2 separate regions of the Homo sapiens genome follow, and region 2 is linked to region 1. The links are contacts of gene promoters, found by promoter capture Hi-C in blood cells and fetal thymus (Javierre and others, 2016). All regions are on one chromosome and are shown on one strand. Each heading gives the region's core, a stretch centred on a gene start or on the middle of the fragment in contact. The rest is flanking DNA. Distances are from core to core; before and after follow the strand shown.

Region 1 (7,691 bases), core at 3,688-6,187:
CAGCCTCGATCTCCTAGGCTCAAGTGATCCTCCCACCTCAGCCTCCTGAGTAGCTGGGACCACAGGGATATGTCACCACGTCCTGTGGCTAAATTATTTTATTTATTTTCTATTTTATTTTATTTTTTGTAGAGACAGGGGTCTTACTATGTTGTCTGGGCTGGTCCTAAACTCTTGGCCTCAAGGGAACCCACAGCCTCAGCCTCTCAAAGCATTGGGATTACAGGTATGAGCGACCACGCCTGGCTATGTTTAACGTTGTAAAGAAATGGAAACCTTTCCATTTCTCTGCCATCCATAGGCTGATAGAAAGGTGTATAAGGTTGTCTTGGGTAGAAATGAAATACCAGCCACCACATAACTAACAAATGCACAGTGTCTAGAGAAAGCTCTGACACAGGTTTATACAACAACTTAGCAAGTAGAAAATCTAAATATGAACAGGGTCCAAACAATCTATGCAAAAGATCAAGAAGTACTGAATGCCTGCTTTTTGTATGAGTCAACGTTAGGCTTTAAGAAGGATAGATAGGCTAGGCATGGTGGCTCATGCCTGTAATCCCAGCACTTTGGTAGGCAGAGGTGGGTGGATCACCTGAGGTTAGGAGTTCGAGACCAGCCTGGCCAACAGGGCGAAACCCCATCTCTACTAAAAATACAACATTAGCCGGGCGTGGAGGCGCATGCCTGTAATCCCAGCCACTCAGGAGGCTGAGGCAGGAGAATCACTTGAACTTCGGAGGTGGAGGTTGCAGTGAGCCAAAATCATGCCATTGCACTGCAGCCTGGGTGACAAGAGTAAAACTCAGTCTAAAAAAAAAAAAGATAGATGGAAATTTAAAACAAAGATGCTATCCCTCTCCTGAGTTACTAACAGTCTAACCAGTAAAATAAGACTTAATAATAATTATTATTTTTTTAAAAAGCAAAAGTAGGCTAGGTGTGGTGGCTCACGCCTGTAATCTCAGCACTTTGGGAGGCCGAGGCGGGCAGATCACGAGGTCAGGAGATTGACACCTGCCTGGCTAACACGGTGAGACCCCGTCTCTACTAAAAATACAAAAAATTAGCCGGGCGTGGTGGCAGGCGCCTGTAGTCCCAGCTACTTGGGAGGCTGAGGCGGGAGAATGGCATGAACCCAGGAGGCGGAGCTTGCAGTGAGCCGAGATAGTGCCACTGCAGTCCAGCCTGGCTACAGAGCGAGACTCCATCTCAAAAAAAAAAAAAAAAAAAAAGCAAAAATAAATTAGCCAGGCATGGTGGTGTGCACCTGTAGTCCCAGCTAGCTTCTCTGGAGGCTGAGGTGGGAGGATGGCTTGAGACGCGAGGCAGAGGATGCAGTGAGCCAAGATCACACCATTGCACTCCAGTCTGGGCAATACAGCCAGATCTTGTCTCAATTTAAAAAAAAAAAAAGCAAAAATAATTAAAGATTTAAATACAATTTCAAGATAGTAATATAAATCAGAGAGGGAGAAGGCAGGAGGGAAAATTGATAAGGGAGGAATTTATCTTTCCTTCAAGATCCTGGGAGAAAACAGAAAGCCAAAGTGTGTTTCTACAAAATTTGTGGCATCCCAAAGATGTAAGAGTTCCTCCTTCTATTGTTGCTCTAGAAATCTTAGTTAAAAAAGAAGTGTTACGTAATAAATCACCAGGACCCTTGAACTGGATAGATAAAAACAATCGCTAACATAGGGGCATTTAATGTGCCAGGCACTGCTCTAAACAGTTTACATGCTTCCTCACTTAATCTTCTTAATAACTCTATGATATTAATACTACTGTTGTCTTCTTGTAGTGATGAGGAAAATGACGCTCAGAGACGTAAGTAAATCACCCAATGCCACACAGCTAGAAAGTGGCAGAAATGGGGTTTGAATAAAGGCAGTCCAGAGCCAACATATTTAACCACTAACTACATTTAACCATTTAAATTCCCATATTCCAGTTACTGGATTCGATCTCCAATTACAGACGGGGAAATAGACCCAAAGGTATGGGAAGACTTGAGGATTTGGAGGTTACCTGATTGATAAGAGATCAGCAACAGGAGTTCCACTAACTGCTAGTCCAGTCTTATTTCTATGAAGACTGACATTGGGTATCACCAGAGAGTCTTTTCTTTTCTTTTCTTTTCTTTTTTCTGAGATGGAGTCTTGCTCTGTCGCCAGGCTGGAGTACAGTGGCGTGATCTCGGCTCACTGCAACCTCCACCTTCCAGGTTCAAGCGATTCTCCTGCCTCAGCCTCCTGAGTAGCTGGGATTACAGGCACGCGGCACCACACCTAGCTAATTTTTGTATTTTTAGTAAAGATGGGGTTTCACCATGTTGGCCAGACTGGTCTCAATCTGCTGGCCTCGTGATCCGCCCGCCTTGGCCTCCCAAAGTGTGGGGATTACAGGCATAAGCTCTCACAGGCTGTGCCCAGCCTAGAGAACTTTCTCTTAAGATGCTATTTGTGGGTGAGTCACTAGGATACCTGCTTTCTGACTGGCAGGGGGGACGACAGAAAGCAACACCAGTGTACAATAAGCTAGAATTGAGTTCAAAGCTGATTCTGCTGTTGACCAGCTGTATGATGGTGAGCAAGTCACACTCTTTGAGCCCAGTTTCTTTACCTGAAAACTGGGACAACAGTCACCTCATCAGCTCGTAGGATTACAGGAATGAAATGAATTAAGTGGAGAAATTAACAGCTATTATCATTTTTGGTTGCTGCAGGAATGTTTGAGGTGGGTCAGGTAGAACTCAAGTGTATGGCATGCTGTGTAGGCTGCGATTTCTCAAGTCCAAACTGGATCACAGTTCCTCACGGGCATGCAGAGAATTAGGGTTGCAGGATGGCTGGAAATCAGTTGTCCTACCTTGATTCAGGCCACATCATCAGGAATGAAGCCTCAGAACAGCCTGCTGGAAGTCACATATTTTCCTGATACAAGGAATTGTATCTCTTTTAAAACTTCATTGGGCCAGCTATTTTTAATGACTGTTTTTGATATGAAGTTATGCAGCTCCGCTTTAAGGGACTCTTAGTGGTGACTGTGGTCAAGAGTTTGTTTCTTTATATTTCCGGCCAAGCGAATGTTCAAGACTTTGCAATTGATGGACTATTACAAATAATCTGCTTGTGTCACTTTGCCCATGGCCAGAGAACAGATGGAGGCTGCTCAGGTGAGATGGCTTAGCTGCAGACTAGGGCTCAGTAGTGACTCTTAAAACCTGGGCATGAGTATTTTTAAAAAGTTGCATAATGACTGTAATGTGCAGCCAGGATTGAGAACCATTGAACTAGGTGAAAGGCTCTGTGCCAGGGTCTGATTCAAAGCATAGACAGGTGCGCAAGATCTTCAGGCTCTTGGAGCCCGGCCTGACTGGTTTTGTAATGGATATCTAGGCAGTCATAGTAAGAGGTGAAGCTAGAGGAGGCGTTGTGGAGGGCCTGAAATGTACAGGCAGAGAAGTTTGTACCAAATTTAAAAGGCAATAGGGAGCCACAGAAGGTGACTGGGGGAGGGGGGAAGGAGTAGACAGAGGTATACAGGCGTATTAAAGGGTCCAGCTTTTTTTTTTTTTGAGACGGAGTTTCACCCTTGTTACCCAGGCTGGAATGCAGTGGTATGATCTCCGCCCACTGCAACTTCCACCTCCCGGGTTCAAGCCATTCTCCTGCCTCAGCCTCCTGAGTAGCTGGGATTACAGGCACCCGCCACCACGCCCGGCTAATTTTTGTATTTTTAGTGGAGATGGGGTTTCACCTTGTTGGCCAGGCTGGTCTTGAACTCCTGACCTCAAGTGAGCCATTCGCCTCAGCCTCCCAAAGTGCTGGGATTACAGGCGTGAGCCACCGCGCCTGGCCGAGTCCAGCTATTTACAGGCTAAAAAATGTACTTTATTTTATTTCTTTAAAATTTTTTATGGAGTAGACTAGCAAAGAAACCAAGCTTTCTTTTACTTCTGTACGGTCAGTTCAAGGTCAACATTCTGCAGCACTCAGGTTCACTGGTCCCTGGAGAGCAGGGACTGGCCCAAATGATGTTTGTAGTACCTGGCACATCGCATGGAACATGGCAGCCTCCTGGTAATGTTTGTTGACTGACTACATGAGTGTAGACTCTTTAGCCAACCCATCTCGATTTCGGGAGGGCTGGTACCCTGGGCCGGCCTTCCCTCTGCAAGTAAAAGCATTGGTGCTGTTCCTCTCACCGTTCGCCTTTCCTCCATTTATCCCCATCGACTGTTTCCAATTCTATCAACTCCGACCCCGTCTTCTCTCCATTCCGTCCCTCCAGCGTGCCACGCTGCCACCAGGCTGCTGGGCTCAGGCGCCAGGCTTCAAACCTGTCTTTCACCCATTGTTCAGTTTCCGGTGAGACAAGTTCAACCCCAGGTTCAACCACTACAATGACAACCACAAACGATCCCTCGCAGACACCTCGAAGAAGCCGCCCGCACGCCACGGGCCGCCAGGCCTACAAAGCAGGCACAGAACAGAGGGGCGTTTCCATTCCCGCGGTCCCCGGCGGTGGGGGCGCGAGTGGGAGCCCCTCTCCCCAGTGACAGGCCCCTCTGCGAGGGAGCGCGCAGCCCTCCGCGGGCGTGGCCGCCCTGGCCCCGCCCCGGCCCGCCCCCTCGCCAGTGAGCTAACCCCCGCCCGGCCACCCGGCCGCCAGCTCCTCTCCACGGCCGCCCGCCGCGGAGTCCTGCCGCGGGGGATGCTCCGGGTCCCACCTCCCGGGGGAGCTGCGCATTTCCGCGCGCCAGGGCGGCCCCGGCCCCGGTCCCGGCCCCGGCCCCGGCCAGCCCTCGCGGCGGCAGCCCGCGTTCCGCGTTCCCGGGAAGTTGTCTCCGGAGCCCGCGGCGCCTGGGTCTCCTCCCCCTGAGCCCCGCCCCCCAGCCCAGAGCTAGGATCCGCGAGCTGCCCGGCCCGGGGGCGTCGCCGCTCGCTCTGCGAAGCCAACGAGTCTCTGCTTCCCGGCGCGGAGCGCGCGTCCCCCGCCTGCCTGAGGACCCCCGCGCACCCCAGAGACGGCGCGCGCCCAGAGCGCGGGAGCCCGGAGCGCCGGGCGCCTGGGACCCCGCGGAGCCGCTGCCCAGCCCGTGGGGCTCGGCGGGAATGCAGGCTGCGCTGTGAACCCGGGCGCCAAGGCCATGTCCGGCGCTCGCTGCCGGACCCTGTACCCCTTCTCCGGGGAGCGGCACGGCCAGGGGCTGCGCTTCGCCGCGGGCGAGCTGATCACGCTGCTGCAGGTCCCGGACGGCGGCTGGTGGGAAGGCGAGAAGGAGGACGGGCTCCGTGGCTGGTTCCCGGCGAGCTACGTGCAGTTGCTGGAGGTAAGGGGCGAGGGCCGGGGCTGTAGGAGCCGGGGCTGCGGTCCTCGGTGCGCTCGCGTACCTGTTGCCCGTTCCGGGGATGCCGCAGCGTCCCGGTCGGAGGGGCGCCCCGGGGGGCAGCCCTTGCCGGCGCTACCTGTAGCTCCACGCTCCTGGGGGGCAGCGACGGCAGCGGGCGCCCCTCGGGGCGTGGGCAACGCGGACTCGCGGGGAGCTTCCACCTTGCGCCGGGCCTCCGGAGCACACCGTGGCTGCTCTGAGGAAGCGAGAACTTGTTGCCTGTGTGAGTTAAGGAGCAGGCGGGAGCGTTCCCGGCAGTGGCAGGGGCCGGTGAAGGGTCTGGCGGTCTTGGGAAGAGGCACGGAGGATCAGGGGTGCGAGAAAGTGGCACCGACTCGGTCCCGCAGCCCCGCGTCTCCACCCCGGAGTCTAGAGCCTGATGACCCGTGGACGGTCGTGCTGCCTTGGGTCAGGCTGCCTGGCCGCCTCGGGACCACCCACTTGCTGGTCAGCCGAGCCTGCTGGCCACCAGCCCGAGCCCCCTCAGCAGGCTTGATCCTGGGGTGCCGTAGCACCCCCCGCCACTGCCTGCTCCCCTGGTCCAGCTCCCCGAGGCTAAGGCTCAGAACCCGAAAGTGGCTTGTTCCTGGGGTTCTGGCCTGGCCCCAGGGCTGCACAGGACCTGCTGAGGCAAGGCGGCTGGCTGTTTATTGTCTATGTGACAGGCTGTCCTCTAATCACTGAGCTCGCAGTCACAGCCTGAGTGAGACCCGAAGTTTCTAAAGTCCTTTGTGTGTGGGGGGGTGACCTTCCAGGACATCCCCTTTACTAGAAGCCCGCCTGCCCCCAGGATTCTTGTAAAGACTAAATTAACAGTTACCTTCAATGGTGTCAGTATTCCTAAACATTCTGGTAAAACACTGCCGGAAGAAATCATGGAGGCTGAATTTATTTATTATTTAACTCTTGACCTACTTCACAGAGAAAGTAGCAAATTTTGACTGAGAATGCTCAGTGCAATTCATCGGGGGCGGGGGGAAGAAAGAAAGAAGTGAAATGGTTACAGGGTGAGTCCGCCTGAGGATGTATCCTGTGGCAACATTGTCAGCAAGAGCCTGGCCTTATAAAAGTACATTAGATTGCTTTCAGGTCCAGAGAACAACAAAATCTCTCCTAAAGGCATCAGTAGCATTTGAGCAAAGTTTAGGGGCTGCTGGAATGAGCTTTCATGGGCTGTCAGCAGAGTATGTTGCAGGAACCCTCTTGGTTCTGTATCTGGAGAATCCGGAGATACCCTACTTGTAGGAGAGGCTCAGGTGTGCCCTGCCCTGGCTTTTCCAGTTCCTTTCCCGAGATTCGGATGTAAAAGAAAGCGAACGTATTGCTTCTTACATGAGAAGCAAGGGGCCTCCTTGTTTCTAGCTTGAAGCCCTGGGATAGATACGTATTTTGGGAGTTCTTCGGGTGGTCACCCTTTTCCAGGAAATTCTGATGTGGAAATTTGGCTGATGGATGTCTGTCCGGTGAGGAGCATCCCTGGCTGGACTGAGCCAGCTGTGTTTTGTGTAGGGGTGAGGCTGGGTAGGTGTTAGTTAGCAAGAGTGGAGTGCTGCTTTTTCTTCCGGGAAAGGGACGATGGACCAGGGCCAGGGGACAAGCGGAATTAACAACTGGGACAGTTTTGGGTGTGTCTGTCCCATCCTCTGGCATATACAAAGGTAAGAGATCTCTGGTGTCTCAGGGCCTCTCAGACCATTCCTGACTAGTAACTTGCAACAGAAGCATCCATCTGCGTGAGCAATACTTCTGAGCACCTGCTTGGCACAGTGTGTGCACGTTATCACCAGTTCCCTGACAGCTCTGTGAAGGGTGAGGTACTTCCCCCATTTTATAGACAAGCAAGCTGAATATGAGAGAGGCGAAGTCAGCTCCCCAACTAGTAATGCTTGCGTGTTTTGTTAGCAGCTCAGATGACTGAGTATCACCCCCTGCGCCTGTGCCTTTTTTAAACATGATAGCCCGGGCTCAACTATGCCAAACAGCGTGTGAGCGAAGGGTCTGGATCCATGGGGAAAAGGGGCATGCGCAGCCCCTGAGGTCAGCATGTTGGTGACAGCACCGCGAAGGGGAGGCTGAACCTCTAGGGCTAAAACGAGGACAGCTGCATCCAGGAGCAACTTGGAGGATCTTCCCTGCTAACCCCAAAGTGTGACTTTACTCAGAACCAGCTGGGGGTCTTCCCACAGTGGGCCCGAGTCCTGTATCCTAAGTACTGGGTGGGACTCTTCTCAGGGCCAAAGCAGATGCAGTTTCAACAGGGGGGCATGTGGGTCAGGTGCTTGGCATCTGGGAACCT
Region 2 (7,691 bases), core at 2,427-4,926, 43 kb after region 1:
TAAATACACCATCAATTATTTATCCTACTCTTGGATCTTTGGGTTCTTTCATACTATTATGAACAGTGCTACCTTGAACATTCTCGTACATGTTTTTGGTGGACGAAAGCTCTCATTTGTGTTGGGTATTCACCTAGGGGTAGGATTGCTAGGTCATAGAATATGTGTATCATATGTTTACTCTTGGGAAATACTACCAAATAGTGTTCCACTCCCACTGGCACTGTCTGTGACTTCTCATAGTTCTACATCCTTGTCTGTGTGTGCCATTGCTGGTTTTACAGATTTTAGTCATTTGGGTGAACGTGTAGGGGTCTCACATTGTGCGTGTGTGTTATCTTTAATATATATATATATATATATATATATATATATGTTTTAGAGACAGTGTCTCACTCTGTTGTCCACGCTGGAGTGCAGTGGTGTGATCTTGGCTCACTGCAGCCTCCACTTCCTGGGCTCAGGTGATGATCCTCTCACCTCAGCCTCCCGAGTATCTGGGACTACATGTGCATGCCACCATGCCCAGCTAATATTTTGTATTTTTTAGAAGAGATGAGGTTTCACCATGTTGCCCAGGCTGATCTTGAACTCCTCAGCTCAAATGATCCTCCCACCTTGGCCTCCCAAGGTGCTGAGATTACAGGTGTGCCCCACTGTGCTTGGCCTCTTTACCTTTTTAATTAGCAATTTTTCAGAATTTTATTATGAAAAATTTGAAGAGTTGCAAGAATTACAGTGCACACTTATATACCCATCATCAGATTCCGCCATTAACATTTTCTTATACTTGTTTTATTGCATATCTAACCTTCTATCCTTCCATCAATCGTATTTTTTTGGAAACATTTCAAAGTAAGTTGAGAACAGCAGTATACTTCATTCTAAGGAGTTCAGTATACAGAGCATTAACTTACATACAGTGTAATGCACATATCTTTTTTTATTTTTCTTTTTATAGAGGTGGGATCTTGCTATGTTACCCAGGCTGGTCTTGAACTCCTGGCCTCAAGTGACTCTCCTACCTCGGCCTCCCAAAGTGTTGGGATTACAGATGCGAGCCCCCTGCACCTGGCCTTGTTTTTTTTTTTTTTTTTTTTTTTTACCAAAAAAAGAAAAAACAGGATTGGCCGGGTGCGGTGGCTCACGCCTGTAATCCCAGCGCTTTGGGAGGCCGAGGTGGGTGGATCACAAGGTCAGGAGATCGAGACCATCCTGGCTAACACGGTGAAACCCCGTCTCTACTAAAAAAATACAAAAAAATTAGCCAGGTGTGGTGGCGGACGCCTGTAGACCCAGCTACTAGGGAGGCTGAGGCAGGAGGATGGCATCAACCTGGGAGGCAGAGCTTGCAGTGAGCCGAGATTGTGCCGCTGCACTCCAGCCTGGGTGACAGAGCGAGACTCCGTCTCAAAAAATAAAAATAAAATAAAATAACAGGATTTTGTTCTGTTGCCTAGGCTGGAGCGCAGTGGTACGATCATAGCTCACTGGAACCTCAATCTCCTGGGCTCAAGCAATCCTCCCATCCCAGCCTCCTAGAGTAGCTGGGACTGCAGGTGGATACCACCATGTCCAGCCTACGAGTACCTATATGCTTACTGGCCATCTGGGTTTCACATGTGTGTGAAATTGTGTGTGTCTAAGGGTGATATGCCTAAGGGTGATATGTCTAAGGGTGGCTTTTAAATTTTTTGCGGGGAGGGTGAAGAGTCCAGTTGACTGACGGGAGGACCAAGGGTATATTCATGTGACAAACCTGGTTCCAAAGTGTCTACTATTAACTGGAAGCAGATTCTCACACCTACAAGGCTTCCCAGTGTCAGGAGCCAGGAAATGCTGGTTTGTTAAAACTCAGCCCAAAATTGGGCAGAGCAGTGAAATTTCCAAGCATGATGCTCAAAGCCTTATCTTCTAATCATTTCCAGTTATGTAACTTTTTTTTCCAACGAGTGTCAGTCTAGCAGGATAACACAAAATCATTAGCAGATTTATAAAGCGGTTTGACCAACGGCTGCCAGAGGAAGTGTGACTTTGAGTTCCCCACGTAGGCGTCAGACTTGTCTTCATATTGAAAGGCAGGGGAGTTGGTGCAAAGAAGGGTGTTCCCGGGGGCAGTTGACAGTAATGGATCTTTAAAAAAATTATTCCCCTCGTCAGCTCCAAGGTTGGCAGGCCTTGCACTTCAGGGTGTCAGGCCCTGTCCCCAGCCCCTTTCCTAGGCTGAGGACTCTGGGTTTGCTGCGGGTTTGTAAGCCGTGGGTGTTTCCTCCTTCTCCCAGGGGTCCCATGTGTCAAATCCTGTGACTGGGCATGTGTGGCCTTGTCATGATGCATGGGTCTGTGTCCGGGGAGGAGCAGGGCCACCCACATCCTCATTTGGCTTTCTGTTTCTTCTCAGATGTCATTTTGTGAAGGAGCCACCGACCAAGGCCTGGTTAGGAGGAAGTGGTCACCAAAATACTTTGGTGTCCAGGGCTTGCAGAGAGCTTGTCCTCAGTGGCTGTGTCTGAACTCCACTATTGAGGGTGCCTGGAGGGGGATCTTGATTGGGAAGGCAGTGGGGAGTTTGAAGGAGGGGCTGTTTATAGAGGCTTGAGCAGGGTAGAGGATGGGGAAGCACGCCCAGAGAGGGGAAAAGGGAGGGAGGCCTGCAGCAGGAGGGGGCCGACTGCTCTAAAGAAGCCACTGCTACTCCCAACCCCAGCCTGCAGCCTGCAGCCTGCTAGGAGGGAACTGGTGAAAATACCCCAACCTCGCTTTCCTCATGAACCTTCATCTCCTACCTATGACTTTCAGTGGCCAAATTGTCTTTCACTGTAGCCAGAGGGTGCGAGGGTCCCTGGAGTCCCTGTGGGTCAGCCTTCTGGTGCAGGAGCTGCAGGAGAAGGGCCAAAGCTAGCTCCCGACAGGCAAGTGGAGAGTCACCAGCCCAGAGATGTTTCTAGAGCTTTGTCCCATGTTAAAACACAAAATTATTTGCTCTGGGAGAATATATTTAAAACTTCTCTTGACGAGTTTGGAAGAGAGCTTTGGCCTAGGAACTGATCTGAAATTAAATGCAGACATATGGGGTGGGGGATCTTGTTCATAAAGATCCTCCTCCTGCCTGGCTTGAGTCAAGAAACAGGCGAAGGGCACCCATGGCTGTGGCATGGAGGGCTAGGACAACAGAGACACTTTGCAGGAACATGGGTTTAGGAGGTGGAATGCCAGAATGGGCTCCCCAGGGTAGAGGTTTGGAGAAATCTGCTTACGAAGGAAATATTATCAAGGACCAAAAAAGTGATGGAAAGAGAGGGACATTGTGGCGGAGCTAAGGATGGGTGGAGCAAGAAGAAAAAGTCAGAGTTGGGAAAGAAGCTAGGTCGGAGTTAGAGAATCTCGTCTCTAGGCTGGGGCAATGGAACAAGTAAGGAAGTCAGTTGCATGGTTGGAAGAGAATGTATTCCCTTCGAACCTGACTCTTGGTGAGGGTTGCTCATCCATGCCTGTGTGGCATAGTGGTTCAGAGAGTGCGGGGTGTCAATGCCAGCTGTACTACTTACTAGCTGTGAGTCCCTGGGCAGATTACATAACCTTTCTGTATCTCAGATTTCTCATCTGGAAATAGGACCATTATAATACATGTCTCTTAGGGTTATTTTAAGGATCAAATGAGTAAATACAGGTAAAACTTTAAACCACTGCTGTATATTTAACCCTTAGGGTCTCCGACACTGTCATGAAGGCTGCCTCTGAACAGGAGAGGACTGAGTGGACCAGTTTTGGGATGGGAGTGGGAGGACCAGAAGAATGGTACCGCCAGGGAAGAGAAAATGGGAGGGAGGCCATGGTCTAAATTGATCCCTGACATAGCGGTGGGAAATGAGCCAAGGAAACTGGCTTGAACTAGCTTCTATTTGGAGGCTGGCCATTTGCTGCAGAGACAGTTATTTGAAGCTCACGAGTCATTCACACATTATTACAAATACTTTTATGAGGACCTTTGGTTTCTGAATAGGGCAGAGCTGGGGGTGAGCCTGAAAACATGGCTATCAGAAGGAAGAGTCTTGGGAGAAGGGAAGTGGAGGGAGAGGAATTGTTTTTACTTTAATATTTCTTGTCTTAAAAAGAGTTATTGGTGGCCGGGCACGGTGGCTCACACCTGTAATCCCAGCACTTTGGGAGGCCGAGATGGGTGGATCACCTGAGGTCAGGAGTTCGAGACCAGCCTGGCCAACATGGTGAAACCCCATCTCTACTTAAAATACAAAAAATTAGCTGGGTGTGTTGGTACGCACCTGTAATCCCAGGTACTCGGGAGGCTGAGACAGGAGAATCGCTTGAACCCGGGAGGCGGAGGTCGCAGTGAGCCGAGATCGTGCCACTGCACTCCAGACTGGGGGACAAGAGTGAGACTTTGTCTCAAAAAAAAAAAAAGAGTTATTGGTTTAGTAGGATTTAGGGATGGAGGTTCCCATGCAGACTGTGGACATGGGTTTTGTGTGTGTGTGTGTGTGTGTGTGTGTGTGTGTGTGTGTGTGTAGCCTGGGGTTGGGGATTGGGGTAATGGTAGCTCCACCTTTATGAAGCGTTTCTCCAGGACACACTTTTCCTGAACACAGTGCAGTGAGCACCACTTTTCACCTATAGTGAAGGTGTTTTCTAGCTGGCTGGGGAGCATCACCCATAGACAGCATGATACAGTTGTTAAGAGCACAGGGAAACCAGTGGGTTTGGACTGAGTTTTGAATCTCTGCTCAGTCACTCTGTTTTTCTTTCTTTCTTTTTGAAAAATAGAGATGGGCGGTTGGGCGGCAGTCTCACTATACTGCCCTGGCTGGTCTCAAACTCCTGGCCTCAAGTGATCCTCTGGCCTCAGCCTCCCAAAGTGATGGGATTACAAGCGTCAGCCACTATGCCTGGCCTGTGAATTTTTTTTTTTTGTTTTTCTTGAGACAAGGCCTCACCCTGTCATCTAAGCTGGAGTGCAGTGGCATGATCACTGCTAACTGCAGTCTCGACCTCCTGGGTTCAAGCAATCCTCCCACCTTGGCCTCCTGAGTAGCTGAGACCACAGATGTTTGCTACCATGCCTGGCTAAATTTTTAATTTTATTTCTTGTAGAGACAAGGTCTCTCTATGTTGCCCAGGCTGGTCTTAAACTCCTGAGCTCAAGTGATCCTCCTGCCTCGGCCTCCCAAACTGTCTGGATTACAGGCATGAGCCATCAGACCCAGTTTGGCCTGTGTGAATTTTTAATATGTATATTTTAATATATATTTTAATCAAAGACTACAGTTAACCAGCATTTATATTCTATTTGCCAAAAAGGCAAGAGTCTCAGCATATTTTTACTTTCCTTTCTATCTTTTCTCTACCATGTCCCATGATGAAATTATTTGGAATTATAGATCCAGATTACATTATTATTGTGTTTATTACCTCAAACTCCTGGGCTCAAGCAGTCCTCCTGCCTCAACCTTCCAAGTAGCTGGGACTACAGGTGCATACCACCACACCCAGCTAAATTACATTTTAAAACTTGTTGTTTTTATAGAGATGAATCTTTTTATGTTGCCCAGGCCGGTCTTGAACTCCAGGCCTCAAGTGATCCTCCCATCTTGGCCTCCCAAAATGCTGGGATTACAGGCATGAGCCACCTCACCTGGCCTGCTTGGTCACTCTGACCTGCAGGAAGTTGCTCAAACCTTTTGGTACATCAATTTCCTCATCTGTAAAATGGGCATGATAGTGGGACTTATTTCATAAAATAGGAAAAGTAAATGAATGATTTAATACATGTAAATAATTTAAAAGAACAATACTAATTTAAAAAACATTATTATTTTATTCTTCTACTCATTTCTTACGGATTCCTTCTGTTCCAGCCAGTCAGGCTTCAGGTTTCTCATTGATTTCTTTTTTTTTTTTTTTTTGTGAGTCAAAGAGTCTCACTCTGTCACCCAGGCTGGAGTGCAGTGGCATGATCTCAGCTCACTGCAACCTGTGCCCCCTGGGTACAAGCAATTCTCCTGCCTCAGCCTCCCAAGTAGCTGGGTTACAGGCACCCGCCACCACACCCGGCTAATTTTTGTATTTTTAGTAGAGATGGGGTTTCACCATATTGGCCAGGCTGGTCTCTTGGCCAGGCTGGTCTTGAATTCCTGACCTCGTGATCTGCCTACCTCGGGCTCCCAAAGTGCTGGGATTACAGGCGTGAGCCACCACGCCCAGTGTTTTTTTTTTGAGACGGAGGCTTGCCGTGTCACCTGGGCTGGAGTGTAATGGCGTGATCTTGGCTCAGTGTAACCTCCTCCTCCTGGGTTCAAGCAATTCTCCTGCCTAAGCTACCCTGAGTAGCTGGGATTACAGGTGCCCGCCACTATGCCCAGCTAATTTTTTTTTTTTTTTTTTTTTGTATTTTTAGTGGGGATGGGGTTTTACCATGTTGGTCAGGCTGGTCTCAAATTCCTGACCTCAGATAATCCACCCGCCTCCCAAAGTGCTGGGTATTACAGGTGTGAGCCACTGTGCCCAGCCAGGTTTCTCATTGATTTCTGAAGAAGTGTAAGAAATGGCCACGCACCTACCCTTGCTTGGCCTGTCTGGCCCTCCTCACCATCTCCCTGCATCCTGCAAAGTCCTCCTCTAGAAACTCTTGCTCATCTTCAGCTCTCAGGGCCTTGTCTTCCTTGGGAGGAGGCACCTAAGCGGCACCTGCACATGCCACCCTGAATTGACAGATTGGAGCATTTATGTTAATATAGAGAGGCCTTGAAGGCTGCGTCTCCTCCTCTGCCATCTTGCTCTCCACCGTCATGTTTAACATGGCCCCTTGCACACGGCAGCAGTGGACGAGGCACTGGACTGGGGGAATGTCTATCTGGAGTCACATCTTGGCTGTGTGACCTTGAATGAGTCACTCGGTCTAGGTGGGTCTCCTTTTGTCATGTGTGAAATTAAGCTAAGTACTGGGAACTCTAAGGGTTAAGAGCTAATGCACGCACAGTCAATTCTTCACTGGGAAGTGATGCTTTACAAAGTCAAGGTATTGTGATGAATCCTTCTGTGTTCCGCCTGCATGCCTTAGACGGTGCTGAGCACAGAATCGTTCCTCAATAAGATTCTCTTGGGGAGTCGATTGCTGACTAAAGTGGATTGGTACAGCTTCTGTTTTGATCTGCCTGTCATAATGTTCTATCTCCCATCTTTTCGGGGAACTTCCCTATTCTCACCCCGCCATGTGACTTTGGTGGGGCTTGTCAACCAAGATACGTTGCTAAGTTGGGAGGAAGTTACCAGTGGCTCTCTAGTTGGGGCAGAGTCCACCTACACGTGACAGCCAGTCAGAGGTGAGAGAAGATGTCCTGTAGACATTGTGTGAGTCCCTGGAACCAGGCATCACTGAACTCCAGTGATGCATGCTGATAAATCCTCCTTTGTGTTGGCTTAAACTTGTGGATTGGATTTCTGCCACTGGCAACTGAAAGTCCTGGCTCTCTTTTCCTTCCATTTTGGAATGCAGCAGTGATTCTCTCTCTTCTTCCATTAACAAAGGGAAACTGAAAGGGTGTCAGAAGTAAAAGTCAAAACTGGAAAACTTTATTTAGGTTGGGTTATGGTGGCTCGTGCTTGTAATCCTAGCACTTTGGGAGGCCGAGGCAGGAGGAGCGCTTGAAGCCAGGAGTTCAAGACTAGCTTGGGCA

The links. Contacts are between HindIII fragments. The CHiCAGO score rates a contact against its expected background, and 5 or more counts as called.
Region 2: a fragment that was not itself captured here is called in contact with the fragment with the promoter of GAS7 in region 1 in 3 of 17 cell types (monocytes, neutrophils and M0 macrophages); the score reaches 10.6 in monocytes.

What each region holds. Positions count from the first base shown.
Region 1 is chr17:10,195,852-10,203,542 of GRCh38, reverse strand. It overlaps GAS7 (growth arrest specific 7), which reads left to right and starts at 4,937. Exons shown (of 14, transcript NM_201433.2): 1 at 4,937-5,335. The coding sequence starts at 5,153. The HindIII fragment of the contact is 8,346 bases long and covers 3,948-7,691 here.
Region 2 is chr17:10,151,750-10,159,440 of GRCh38, reverse strand. The region is part of intron 1 of GAS7 (growth arrest specific 7); the gene reads left to right. Among named protein-coding and RNA genes, the nearest start is that of GAS7, 43 kb to the left of the region's middle. RefSeq lists an enhancer at 2,063-2,282. The HindIII fragment of the contact is 9,434 bases long and covers 1-7,691 here.